Linked DNA regions of Homo sapiens: all the other regions are linked to region 2. Evidence: promoter capture Hi-C in 16 types of primary human blood cells and fetal thymus (Javierre and others, 2016). All regions are on one chromosome and are shown on one strand. Each heading gives the region's core, a stretch centred on a gene start or on the middle of the fragment in contact. The rest is flanking DNA. Distances are from core to core; before and after follow the strand shown. Region 1 has its middle 21 kb from the start of GBGT1. Region 2 holds the start of SURF4 (surfeit 4). Region 3 has its middle 12 kb from the start of GBGT1.

The links. Contacts are between HindIII fragments. The CHiCAGO score rates a contact against its expected background, and 5 or more counts as called.
Region 1: a fragment that was not itself captured here is called in contact with the fragment with the promoter of SURF4 in region 2 in 2 of 17 cell types (naive CD8 T cells and total CD8 T cells); the score reaches 6.6 in naive CD8 T cells.
Region 3: a contact is called between a fragment that was not itself captured here and the fragment with the promoter of SURF4 in region 2, in 2 of 17 cell types (erythroblasts and M2 macrophages). The highest score is 6.1, in erythroblasts.

The regions. Positions count from the first base shown.
Region 1 is chr9:133,141,170-133,145,585 of GRCh38, forward strand. It overlaps a transcript of RALGDS not described here. Among named protein-coding and RNA genes, the nearest start is that of GBGT1, 21 kb to the right of the region's middle. RefSeq lists enhancers at 1,140-1,419, 1,470-1,519, 1,919-2,048, 2,099-2,188, 2,641-3,200 and silencers at 3,347-3,446, 3,477-3,596. The HindIII fragment of the contact is 8,766 bases long and covers 1-4,416 here.
Region 2 is chr9:133,374,810-133,379,435 of GRCh38, forward strand. SURF4 (surfeit 4) reads right to left here and starts at 1,251. Exons shown (of 6, transcript NM_033161.4): 1 at 1,113-1,251. The coding sequence starts at 1,160. STKLD1 (serine/threonine kinase like domain containing 1) reads left to right here and starts at 1,557. Exons shown (of 18, transcript NM_153710.5): 1 at 1,557-1,751; 2 at 4,227-4,313. The coding sequence starts at 1,665. RefSeq lists silencers at 676-955, 966-1,205, 1,296-1,795. The HindIII fragment of the contact is 2,219 bases long and covers 293-2,511 here.
Region 3 is chr9:133,173,248-133,177,740 of GRCh38, forward strand. No RefSeq gene overlaps it. Among named protein-coding and RNA genes, the nearest start is that of GBGT1, 12 kb to the left of the region's middle. The HindIII fragment of the contact is 2,504 bases long and covers 1,462-3,965 here.

The sequences.
Region 1 (4,416 bases), core at 1,049-3,548, 230 kb before region 2:
AGAGTTGTCACCAACAGTCCTACCCTCACTGCCATCCCCAGAGAGAACATCTGAGGCAACCAGGTCTCATAGCCTTCCCATCCCCAAAGTCCAACCCACTGGGCAGTGTGGCCCCACCTGCCTTTTCCCACCATTCTACTGCCCCACCCTCTCCCAGGGTCTGGGGCTCCACCTCGCTCCTTCCAGGCTGGACACCCCTCATCCATGTTCTCACCTCGGCTCCCGCAGTGCCCAAGTCTGGGTGCAGGGTGGGTGCCCACAAACTAAGGCAGCCCCTATGGGAGCCCAAGGGCAGGGCTTTCTTACACCCTCACAGCAACTGCGGGGACCTCAGGGCAGACAGGGAGGCTCAGAGGGGACCTGTGCTGCTTCTAGGATGCCCAGCAATAAGCGCTGAGCTGGAATTTGGACCCAGGTGTCCTGCTCCAAAGCCACCTGCCTCACCTGAGGACCAGGGGCCTGATGGCCGAGGTGGATGCCGACATGTGAGGAGGAAGGGCAGTGGCGGCCTGGTCCTGGTCCCCTCACTCTCCTGCCCCAAGGCCCCAGTAGGTGACATAATTCACAGGGCAATGTTTATGCACTGAACGGTAAACACACAGGCAGAGGGGTAGATGGGCCACCAATGGGGAAACTGAGGCCAGCGAGAAGGGACACACTAAGGTCACATAGTCAGTCGGTATCAAAGTTGGCCCAGAACCACAGTCCCCTGTTCCAAGGGCTGTACCCAGCCCAACCACAACCTGGCATGCCATCCAGCCCCAGGCCAGGGAGCCCACGGCTGCAGGGCGGCAAAGCACACGGTACCACACGTGGTACCCCATGGCCCCACACACTCTGGCTGGCACCGAGCCATCGCTGTGCTTTCTGACCTTGCGTTTTCTGACATTCTGCCACTGTCAACTCTCACTCAGGTATCCAGGAAGCGGCCTCTGTTGCTAGGGGACTGGCTTGATGCCGGGTGGCTGGCAGAGTGGGGAGATGGGGAGGGGGGAGTGGACTGGGGTGTCCCTCAGGAAGGATCCAGGGGCAGAGTCTACTGGGTCCTGTGTCAGGGTGGAGGGCCATGAGAAGTATCTGAGGAAACTCAGCAGGTCAGGCCCCTTCCTCCCCAGGCTCTAATGAAGGTCCTGGACCCTGGTCTCTGCATTTTCTCTTTCAGCCTCAGAGTCTTCTTTTTGGGCCAGGGGTGGGTGTGCGCTGGTGGGGGTTGGAAGTGAGCCATCGGAAAGCCCATCGGAAAGCCCCAGCCCGGAGCCTTCCTGCAGGCAAGTATTTTGGGGGCCAGCAGTTGCCAAGCAACTGCTCTGGGTTGCCACGGGAACACTCCCTTTTTTCTGGGGCTTGTCATTCTTAGGGGGATGCCACAATGCTTCCCGTTCCCTTTCCTCTCCACTTCCTCACCCTGGCTTGGCTGCCCTGGGAGGGGACACTGGGAGTCCATAAGCTCACACCCCACCCCTATGGGGGGGCCCACATACCCCTGGCCCTAAGACTCTTTGAGGCTCCAGAATCAAGAACCCCCAAAATGCAAAGCCCAGAGTCCAAGGCCTTCATTAGAGCAGGGAGACGATGAAAGGGGCTCATTAGCTCTGTTTATGTCTCCTTGCCGCCATTAACCACCACTTGGGGCCTAGGGCCTCCCAGCCCCGCCCTGCCCAGCAGCCGGGCCCAGCCCTGACCGTTGGAAGGCCACTGTAATTGGAAGGAATGTGGTCCTGGTGCCTGGCCCTTCCCAGGCTTGTGTGCACACGGGGAGGCGCCATTGCCAAGCTGCCACTACCTAGCTGTGGGAGTTCCTTCCCCTTCCAGTGCCTCAGTTTCCCCACCTGGAAGTGAGGATGGCAGTGGCACTTATCTTGCAGAGTGCTGAGCAGATACAAGGGACACTTTAGCACAAGGCCTACAGGCTGGCTGTCATCACCAGGCACCTCTGCAGCAGGGGACAGAGGGAAGGACTCTGTGGAGAATAGTCCTGTGGCTAGCGTGCAATGGTGACTGACCACGCCACTGATGGCAGAGTGGCCACTGAATCCAGGTCCCCAGGCTCGCAGCCCATGCCTTCTCCACAAGATCTGTCTGCCCCATACCCCTGAGCCTTCCACAGAAGCCAGGGTGCTTCCCACAGGCCAGGCACCCAGCGCCAGCCAGGTGTACAGAGGCCAGTATCTGCTGTGTGAATCAATCGCTGAACCAACTGTCAAGGACCAGCAGCCTCAGGGGCGGGCCTGGTAGCTCGGTGAGCGAGGAGGTGGTGGGAGGGCCTTGTGCGGGTAGGGAGGTGACAGTAAGAAATGGCCTCTTGCTGGATGCAGTGTCTCAAGCCTTTAATCCTAGCAGTTTGGGAGGCCGAGGCGGGGGGAATCCCTTGAGCCCAGGTGTTTGAGACCAGCCTGGGCAACATGGTGAAACTGTTTCTACAAAAAAAATCCAAAAATTAGCTGGGAGTGTTGGCGTGCACCTGCCGCCCCAGCTACTCTGGAGGTCTGAGCCCAGGAGGTCGAGGACGCAGTGAGCCGTGATCTGGCCCCTGCACTGCAGCCTGGGCCACAGAGCAAGACCCTGTCTCAATAATAATAATAATAATAATAATAATAATAATAACAACAACAACAACAATAATAATAATAATAATAATAATAATAATAATAAAATAAAGGAATGGCTTCCACTCATTCCACTCCTGGGCCAGCGGCCCGCTGTGCACTCCGCTCCCTTTCGCTGATGCCATGTGAGCAGCTCCATGGCGGGGACCTGACCCCTGCTCCTCAGCCCCACACTGCCTCGCCCCTTTGTATATCAAAGGCGCCTCTGAGGGGCTGTGCTGACCCCCACCAGGAGCAGCAGGACCACCTCAGGCATCCCAGCTCCCCTGAGGCAGGGTCTGGGGCTGGGGTTGGGGGGAAGGACCCCTCAAGTCTCTATCTGCACAGACAGCCCACCCGTGCCCAGGGCTGCCTTCCGAGCACCCGCAGACCTGGGCCTGCAGTAACAGGAGAGCTATCTGCAAACCGCAGTGTCATCAGCCGCACGGCCTCTGGAGAGGCCTGAGAAAGGCCGGCTCAGCTTGCAGGCGAGGAACCAAACGAAAGGCAAACTCCTGGCCCCTGCAGCCTCGCAGGTCCCCTATCCCTCCTCCCTGCCTTCCTTTCCGCCCCGCTGACACCACGGTCTGCAAACCATGGTCCTCCTCGCCACCCCTGTCACCTCCTCCTCCGCCCCCCGCCGGCCTCCGACGCAAAGTCGCCACCCAGTCACCCCGCCTCGGCCCCGCCTGGTTTGATTTCCTCCCGTGTGTGTCACCCATGAGGTGGCCGTGCCCCTGGCCTGTTTACAGCTGTGCGCAAGCTCCTCGCGACCCGAAAGCGAGACCTTTGTCTGCGGCAGCTCCGCGCCGGGCTGGGCGGCCGCACGGGAGGGCACAGCGCCACCTGCTGGTGCTGCCGCCAGAGCGCGCCAAGCTGAGGAGCAGGCGGGCTCCGCTCACGCCCCCACACCCCCTGGCTGGGGGCTGGGTTCCTGCGATGTCTTCCGACTCCCCGCTGCTCCCCTAGTCCCCGTAGGCACGCGGGTACCCGGCCTTTGGGAGGGGGATCATTCCCAATACTCCTGTTACGGGTTGAACTGTGTCCCTGAACAAAAAGATCTCTGGTACCCGTGAATGAGATCTTATTTGGAAATAGGGTCTGTGCGGATAGAATCCGGATGAGGTCATACTGGATTAGGGTGGGCCTTAATCCAATGACTGCTATCCTTATGATAACAGGGAAAATTGGACAGACACGCACAGGCGGACAGACACGAACTGATGAAGGCACAGTTTGCAGTCACACGTCTACAAAACCAGGAACGAATGCCAAGGAAACTGGCAGCCACCAGAGGTTGGAAGATGCAAGGAAGTATCCTCTCCTAGAACCTTCAGAGACAGCATGGCCTTGCTGACCCCTGGATTTTGGACTTCTGGCCTTTAGAACTGTGAGAGAATACATTTCTGTTGTGTTGAGCCACCCAGCACTTTGTGACAGCAGCCCAGGAAGCTGACCCGATAGACACTGGTCCCAGTCATCACCCTCTGTGCCATCACCACACCTCCCCTCCACGAATCAACCACGACCACAGGACACCTCCTTCTGGAATCTCTCTGTGCCCACGCACTCCCCAGATGAGCACTTCCCCTTCCCCTGGCAACTCCCCGGATTCTTGTTACCCCCACCCCCCGCCCCGGCATGGCCTGGGCCCAGGAGACAGATACGAAATGAATGAGTGAATATCCACCTTTGCTACTTCGTCATATTCAGATGTTCGTAAAAATCTGTATGTTCGTCATATTCAGATGTTCGTAAAAATCAAGTGGCAGCAGTGCTGGGGGTTAAGGAAATGGGGAGAGTGATGGCAGATGTGTGAGGGGAGACAAGG
Region 2 (4,626 bases), core at 1-2,500:
TTTTTTAAACCACACATATACAAGCCTTCCGATAAGTCTAGGCCTCAGAGTTTGATGACTCACTACCACCTCCAGAAAAATTTAAAAATTTAACCATCACTACTTAAAACTCTAGCAAAGCCACACGAACACATTAAGTAAACCGAGGAAAAAACGGCAAGTGGGCCACACAAGGCTCTCCCTGCGGGGATAAGGCTGTTAATTTGTCGACATAACGGGATTCTTTTAGAAGTAAAAGGCATAAATCTGCGTAACCACCACCACCTTTTGTTTTTGTTTTTTTGTTCTGTCAAGCTTAATCAAGAAAGAGGGAAGGGAGTTGTGTCCCTTCACTTTGTAGGATCGGATCCTGTCCACCCAGTTCCCGAATGCTCTCAACAGTTACCCAACCGCCTGTTTCAAAGGCTTCCCTGTTGCTCAGAATGCCACCTGGACACTTCTGGAAGGAGACTATCAGGGAGATAGGCTTCCCCTCCTCCCAGGCTGTGTACAGGTCCCCACTCAATCCAGCCCAGGGCAGAGTCCAAACGGGGAGGGAGACGCAGACAGGGTCAAAGGGACCCCAAGAGTCCAGCACATCTGGGAAAGAGAAAAGGAAAAGGTGCTGTGGCTTCCTGTAGCTGGGGCGCACGCCAGCGCGCCCCCTTTCCTCTGGGAGGACCCCCGGCCCCCGTTCGTCCCCGAGCTCCCAGCCCGCCTCCGGGAGCCCCAGTGAGAGGAAAAACGTGCGGGGACCCCCCAGCAGCTCCAAACGCCGAGGCGCTCCCCGCGAGCCTCAGACCCGACCCAACGCCAGGACTCGCGCCGCCGGCCCGGGAAGAAACCCCCACAGCCCGCGCCCCGGGCTGGCTGGAGGGTGGGGGCGGCTAGCCAGGCAGGGCGCCGAGGCCCGGGCTCCGGGAGCGGCCCAGCGGGCAGGGGAGACTGGGCCCGGAGGCCGGGTTTGGGGCTGTCCAGCCGGGACAGAGGGCCCGGGCGGGGGGGTCCCCCTGTGGGAACAAGGAGTCAGGGGGCGGCCCGGGCCTGGCGCCCTGCGCTGGGAGGCCGACTCCGGAGCGGCCCGGGCGGCCTGGGTCGGGACCGGGGCCGGGGGAGGAGCCCGCAGGCCGCACCTGGTCGGCGAAGTCCTCGGCCGTGCCCATCAGGTCGTTCTGGCCCATGGCGACGGCGGGAGGCTCGGCTCGGCTCGCTCGCTCGCTCGCTGGCTCTCGCCCGTCGGCGCCCGCACCCGCTGCGGCCTCCACAGGAAGTGCCCGGCGGCCGGCCTCGCTCCGCGTCGGCTGCGGCTCCAGCGGCTGCCACGTAGGCCAAGCCTTAAAGGGGCCGCGCGCCGCCCGGGCCCGCCCCGGTGCGTCTTAAAGGGGCCACGCGCCATCCCCAGCCTCCCGACCCATCCGCTCGAAGCCACGCCCGCCGCGCTCGACGCCACGCCTCTCACGCTGGAGGCCCCGCCCGCCGCGCGCAGGCCCTGCGGTCCCTCCCGGCCCGGCGGAACGCGTCCCTTTTAAGGGGGCGGGGACCTGGGGGTCTGGGGCCAGCGCGCGGGAGGGACGCCTGAGTGCCTCGAGGGCGCCGTTCGGGCGGGGAGGATCCCGCGGGTCCCACTGACCCACGCGGGGTGGGGCCAGGGGTGGACGCTCGCCCGTACGCGGTCGCTACTGATCATGCTTGGGCCAGGGTCCAATCGCAGGCGCCCCACGCAGGGGGAGCGAGGCCCAGGGTCCCCCGGAGAGCCCATGGAGAAGTACCAGGTGCCGAGTGTTCCCTGCGGGGAGGCGGGAGCTCCGTGGGGTAACGGTCGCAACCCTGGAGCTACGGCCGGCGGTTCCGACCGAGGGCGGCGAGGGGCCCGCGCCCTGGCCAGTGTCGGCCTGCAGCTCCTAGGTTGAACCCGGGGGGCCTCCAACGGTGACCTCCTGGGTGCCCTTTGCCACTCAGTTTCCCCCTTTGTGAATTGACTAAGGATTCTCCAGCCCTGGCTGAGTATTTGAGGGCGTGGGGCAGCTCCTCTATCCTTCGTGCCTGGGGTCTGTGCGCTTGGGTCCACCGAGGCAGGACCCCCGGGAACATCCCGAGTACATAATTGGGAGCCCCCAGTCCCCTAAAAACACCCCTGCAGCGTGGGTCTGTGAAAATGTTTGAGACCTAAAAAATTCACAAAACACAAAAGGAAAGCTGCAAAATAAAAGTAAATGTTTAATTAAATGCTTCTATACATGATATATACACTTTATTAAATGTTAGATTCAGCATTTGTGAAAAATGCATTCGCTTGGAAACAGTTTGCGGGTTAGATTTTTGTCACTTTGGAAGAATTGTCTTTGTGTGAGAGGACTATAGGGCGTTGCCAGAGGTGAAGCAGATGAGCTTCTGGTGGCCAGATAATTTTTAAAGTAAAGTTGTTTTTCAGATTAAAAAAAAATAGACGTTTCAGGAATATACCTGCTTTTGGAAAAAAAAATAGACTTGATTCGAGATACGGCTCCATTTTACTGTTTAATTTGCTGCCTAAGCTTGAACGCTCTCACACCAGCTCTGCCCTCAGCCCGCTGTGGCTTAGAACAGCAGTCCCTGGCCGGGCTCGGTGGCTCACGCCTGTAATCCCCAACACTTTGGGAGGCCAAGGCGGGCGGATCACCTGAGATCGGGAGTTCAAGACCAGCCTGACCAACATGGAGAAACTGTCTCTACTAAAAATACAAAATTAGCCAGGTGTGGTGGCGCATGCCTGTAATCACAGCTACTCGGGAGGCTGAGGCTGGAGAATCGCTTGAACCCAGGAGGCAGAGGTTGTGGTGAGCCAAGATAGCGCCATTGGACTCCAGCCTGGGCAACAAGAGCAAAACTCTGTCTCAGAAAGAAAAAAAAAAATAGCAGTCCCCAACCTTTTTGGCACAAGGGACCAGTTTTGTGGAAGACAATTTTTCCACAGATGGAGGCGGGAGGATGGTTTTGGGATGATTCAAGCACATTACACTTAGTGTGCAGTTCATTTCTATTATTATGTTGTAATACATAATGAAATAATTACACAACTCACCATAATGTAGAATCAGTGGGAGCCCTGAGCTTGTTTTCTTGCAACTAGACCATCCTCTCGGGATGATGGGAGACAGTGACGGATCATCAGGCATTTGTTTCTCATAAGGAGCATGCAACCTGGATCCCTCACATGCACTGTTCACAATAGGGTTCACACTCCCATGAGAATCTAATGCTGCTGCTGAGCTGACAGGAGGTGGAGCTTGGGTGGTAATGCGAGCCATGGGGAGCGGCTGTAAATACAGATGAAGCTTTGCTCCACTGCCTGCTGCTCACCTCCTGCTGTGCAGCCTGGTTCCTAACAGGCCACGGACTAGGTTGGGGACCCCTGGCTTAGAATATCCAGTGTCATGAGCAGGCTGCTCACAAGGCTGGATTACAGACTCCTAAGACTTTTATGGGCTCCGAGAGTCCCTAGGCTCAGGCTTCCATCCTCATATCTCCTCCTCTGGGTCCTGCCCTCCCTCCCCCAATCCTCTGATGAATGTCAGCCTCCAGCAATCCCCGGCCCAGCCCCCTGCCCCATAGCACTTGGTCTCTGCACAGAGTTCTGGCTTGGTGGCCATCTCTCCAGATTTGGCTCAAATCACAGGCTCTAAGATCAGACCCCCAGAGTTACCCCAGGCAGTGTCCTGCTTTCTAGTGACATAGCCTCAGGCAAGGACCTAGCTCCTTGTGCCTCAGTTTTCCCCAATGTAAACACAGAGGTAGCAATGGTGTCAACTGCAAAGGGTGGCTGTGAAGTGCTTGGCACCATGCCAGGCACACAATGGCTTCCTGATTGTACCAGTCACAAGATTGGTTACTTTCTTGTTGGAAACCAGTTGGGAGGTGGATGCTGGAAGTTGAGGTCACAGAGGTCTATAGAGAGTGAATAAGCCCTTTTTCTCTGGGAGGTTCTTGCACTTGAGTGCCCAGCTGGTCCTCATTGCAGGTTGGGGGAGGGATACAGGGTTGTAGAAGAGCTCCAGAATCGGCCCCAAATAGGTGAGATCAGAGTTCTGCCATTGAAAGGCTTCTTGCCCTCCTTGGGCCATTTCCTCTATTGCAAGATGGGGTGGAGCCACTTGCTCTGCCAGCCTGACAGGGGAGTTAGCAGGGCCAGAAAAGGAGTTGGAGCTGGGCTTTTGGAAAGGGAAAAGTTGTGTGCATTTCCTGAAAGCTTCTCTCTTCCTTGCTGATAGGTTTTGTACCAGCTGAATCCTGGGGCCTTGGGGGTGAACCTGGTGGTGGAGGAAATGGAAACCAAAGTCAAGCATGTGATAAAGCAGGTAAGAGGCCAAGCCTGTGCATCCCATGCCGGGTGGTTCTGTGACTGTGATTTTCCCCAATACAAGCTCTTCCCATGTTGGAGAAGCTTCCTGATGCGGCAGCTGGATTCCTCGCTGCTGACACTTGCGGAGACTAATCTGGTTGGGGTAGATGTGGGGGTGCGTGAAGCTCTGTCACCTTGATGGGGAAGCAATGCTAATTTTTACTCCAACACCACCACCTCCCACCATTTACGCATCACGTGCTGTATGCCAGGCACTGACTCACTTCATCTCCCGTCAACCCTGTAAAGCAGAAACAATGACCCTGTTT
Region 3 (4,493 bases), core at 1,464-3,963, 200 kb before region 2:
CAAGTGCCAAGTAGGCCTTTTCTCCATTATTTCTTTCAAATACAGGACTCTCTTTTAATAAAATGGCCAATTCCCGGTGCTCATCATCCCTGCTAACCCCATGGACCGTCCCTGCACGTCACAGAGTGGGCGTGAGCTCCACGTGGGGAGTGACCTCATCGGATCACGCTCACTGAGGCACACAGCTGGGCACACAGCAGGACCAGAGAATATTTGCTGAATGAGTGAATGCATCAGGAAGCTATGGTGCTGGTGTTACCAGCTGTTAAAACTTCAGACAAGTTAAATTTGATGGAGTTTAATTGGAAAAAAATAAAAAAGAAATGATTCACAAATCGGGCAGCCTCCAGAATCACAGCAGATTCAGAGACTCTGGGGGTTCCTCGTGGTCAGAACAAATTTATAGACAAAAAAGTAAAGTGATGTACAGGAATTGGAAATGAAGTACAGAAACAGAGATTGGTTGCATCTCGGCGTTTGCCTTAGTTGAACACAGTTTAAACACTCAGCAGTCTATGAGTGGTTGAAGTATGGCCGCTGGGATTGGCCAACACTCAGCCATTGTTATAGGTGCATACTACTAAGTTGGGTTTTCCATCTTGTCTGCCTATTAAGCCAGCTTATGGTTCATCCACAAGGACTCAAATAGAGAGGTAGGGAGTCCCTTCTTAGGCCATATTTAGTTTGCTTTAACAATTCCCCTCTTTTGGTCAGCCTCTCAATTTAGAGAGATTGACCGAAGCTTTAGGCATTGATGCCACTCTCTGTCACCATCCTAAAGACTTATTTGGTCTCAGTGTGGAATTCACAAGTCTTCTTTAGTTTCAGTATGGAGTCTCACACATCTTCTTTGGTGTTAACATGGAATTCACAAGTTGCAGCTTTGTACCAGCTAAATGATTCTTTATGTTCTTTTTGACCTGGTTGGAATGAGACCATTCAACTCTCAATGGATGGCTGCATACAAAACATTTAAGACTTGAGAGGATACAGTGTATCAGGGTGACGATTATTATGACTATCAAGAGGATACTATCAAAATGCCAAGGCGTACTCCTTAATGAGAGTTCTTATGAAATGAACCGAACCAAATTAGCCAAGTGAAGGTTCAGACAATATAGGCAGTTCAACAGTGTTAGGGTCCAATTGGTCATTATCCTCGTTTAGAGTATGATAGCGATTAAGGACCATGGTTTGCTGTAAAGTGGCCTGACTTAAACAGTTACTCATTTTCATTGTTACATTGGTAATACAAGTCATAATAACTTGGAAACCTACTAGAAGAATTATAAGGATTAGAAGCCCTTGGAAAACCCAAGCTTGCCATCCACCCTTAGGATGCCTGCAAACCGTTAGTTGCCTATTGTAAACATGTCATGGGCTCCTTTCTCTTGAGAGATGTCTTTAATGTATTTGGTGGCAGTGTCTAAGGAAACAGCAGTATCAGCACCTTTTAAATTAAGCTTCCTGTAATAACAAAATCAGGTAAGAGATAAGTAGTACAACATTCAGTTTTGTTTAACACCAAACCTAGGCTTCCAGCTTGAGCAAAAAGATCTGAGGTTGCACGATGTTCCAGTAAGTGTTTTTGCTGAATTCACGTGTTGTCATCTATCTTTTTTTTTTTTGAGATGGAGTCTCACTCTGTTGCCCAGGCTGGAGTGCAATGGCATTATCTTGGCTCACTGCAACCACCGCCTCCTGGGTTCAAGCGATTCTACTGCCTCAGCCTCCCAAGTAGCTGGGATTACAGGCATGAGCCACCATGCCTGGCTAATTTTTGTATTTTTAGTAGAGATGGGGTTTCACCATGTTGGCCAGGCTGGTCTCAAACTTCTGACCTCAAGAGATCTGCCCGCCTTGGCCTCCCAAATGCCGGGATTACAGGCGTGAGCCACCATGCCCAGCCCTGTCATCTATCTTTCTGAGAGCAGCTTCTACCCATCTGAAACCCTGGGAGGTCTGATTGATTACAAAATCCAAGATTTTTCCCAATTTACAAATTAGCTTTAAATTCCATACAACTGCTATCTCACTACCACCAAGAGTGCACCCCCAGGAATCCCACTGGAATCTTTCCTCAGTAGAAACGAGCTTATCCTCAAATATTTCAAGGCTAGTGCTAATTTCAGTTATTGATCATTTTGGCCTCCAATCATAAGGGCCATCATGAGAATTTTCAGGGGAAGCTATTTGAAAGGCAGGAGCAAGCCAGGCCACATAACAAGAACCCAACCAATGAGGAGGCAGAACAGGATACGCAGACTCTTCACAGACCCAGTATAGACCCTTGGGGATTGGAAAAGAGGGCCACCTAGTTGCATTTGAGCAGAGATCAGTCAGGTTTGTTCGACCACAAATCTGCATACCTCCTGAACAACGTCCAGTGGGAAATTTACTTTTCTGTGGCCCCTTTATAGCATGTTGTAAGGGTATATAACCATATCTAGTAAAAAAGAGACCCTACTGGATTTAATCCAGTTACATTATACAAGCAATCACTTGTATCAACATAAGTAATTCCCAAATCTTGAGTGCGTGATGTCTGGAAGCACAATGTATCTTTTGCTGGCATCACTTGGATTTTTTTTTTTGAGACGAAGTTTCGCTCTTGTTGCCCAGGCTGGAGTGGAGTGTAATGGCACGATCTTGGCTCACTGCAACCTCTGCCTCCCAGGTTCAAGTGATTCTCCTACCTCAGCCTCCCCAGTAGCTGGGATTATAGGCGCCTACCACCATGCCTGGCTAATTTTTGTATTTTTAGTAGAGATGGGGTTTTACCATGTTGGCCAGGCTGGTCTCAAACTCCTGACCTCAGTTGATCCACCTGCCTCAGCCTCCCAAAGTGCTGGGATTACAGACATGAGCCACTGCACCCAGCCTTGGATTGTTTTTTTATATTTGGTAATGATCGACTTATCAATTGAAAAAGTTAGAGTGTTGTTTTTAGTGAGTGTAGGAAGCAAGTAGCAGTGATGTTTAGCATATCAAGAATAACTTTCTGTTCTTCCCTTAGTTTCAGGTAGCTCTCGCTGGGAACGCGGAGGGGCACTGGCACCAGTGGAATCATTTCCTGATTTTTTTTTGGCATTAGCCCACAAACCCAACAATTACTCTGGTTTTGTGCTAGAGCATAAACTTGAGCTAAAGCCATCCACTGATTATGGTGCCATGGGTTTGCCTGTAGGGAAAAGGACAAGATTAGGGCAGAAGATGAGGAAAACAGAAAAACACATAAGGCTTTCCTGATGATAGAGAAGTCTTGGTCCATGATCTTGGGAAAGCTGTCCAAAACTAGGATGCTGTCTGCTTCTGAAGAGAGATTTCCTTGGTCAGCTTTACTTTAAAGTCTCCAACAGGTGTACAGTTCCAGGACTCTGAAGGGGCCCCTTTTTGTTTTTTTGAGACGGAGTCTTGCTCTGTTGCCCAGGCTGGAGTGCAGTGGCGCGATCTCGGCTCACTGCAAGCTCTGCCTCCCGGGTTCACACCATTCTCCTGCCTCAGTCTCCCGAGTAGCTGGTACTACAGGTGCCTGCCACCACGCCCGGCTAATTTTTTTGTATTTTTTAGTAGAGAGGGGGTTTCACCATGTTAGCCAAGATGGTCTCGATCTCCTGACCTTGTGATCCACCCACCTCGGCCTCCCGAAGGGCTGGGATTACAGACGTGAGCCACCACGCCCGGCCAAAAACATGCAAACTATTACAAGAACATACTGATACCCCATTGCGCGTCACAACTAAATTAAGTCCATCTGTAAATGCTCAAATTGTTCATCAGGTGGTGGAAATATATGACCTGAAGTTTTGATTGTTTTTCCAGGATTATGAGTTTGACAAGTCAAACATTGATTATAAACCATTTTAGCAATTTTGGAACAGTCACCCGACCAGTATTTTTTCATAATTTGGATCATTTTGTCTGTTCCATGATGAGCGGTGGAGTGCAGCGTTTTCAACAATGGAAGCTTCAAAGACTCAGGAAGGACCAGGCGGCCGTCTGGGCCCTCCGTGAGTCTGTGCATCACATTAAATTTACATCCTTTTAGATACCAATTTTGCTTTTCCAAATCAGGTGCACTGCACTGTTTACTAAGCAGGTCATCATAAGGAAGTGGGCTCGGCTTAATCCAATGGAGTTCATTCAGATTGCATTTCTTAACAGTTTCAGCACTAGCTGATTTAGCATAAAAATTTGCTAAAGCATTTCCCTGATATTTGGGTTCAGTTCTACAAGTATGAGCTTCAATCTTAGTAACAACAGTCTACAATGGTAACAGGATAGCAGAAAGGGGCTCATTTACTTGGGGTCTATTTTTGATGGAGGTCCCACTAGAGGTGAGAAACCCTCATAGTTTCCATATCACGCCAAAATCATGTACTACTCCGAAAGCATATCTACTAGCTGTATAAATATTTACTGACTTGTCCTCAGCTATATGACAAACTTGGGTAAGGACAAAAAGCTCTGCAGTTCGGGCTGACTTAAATTGA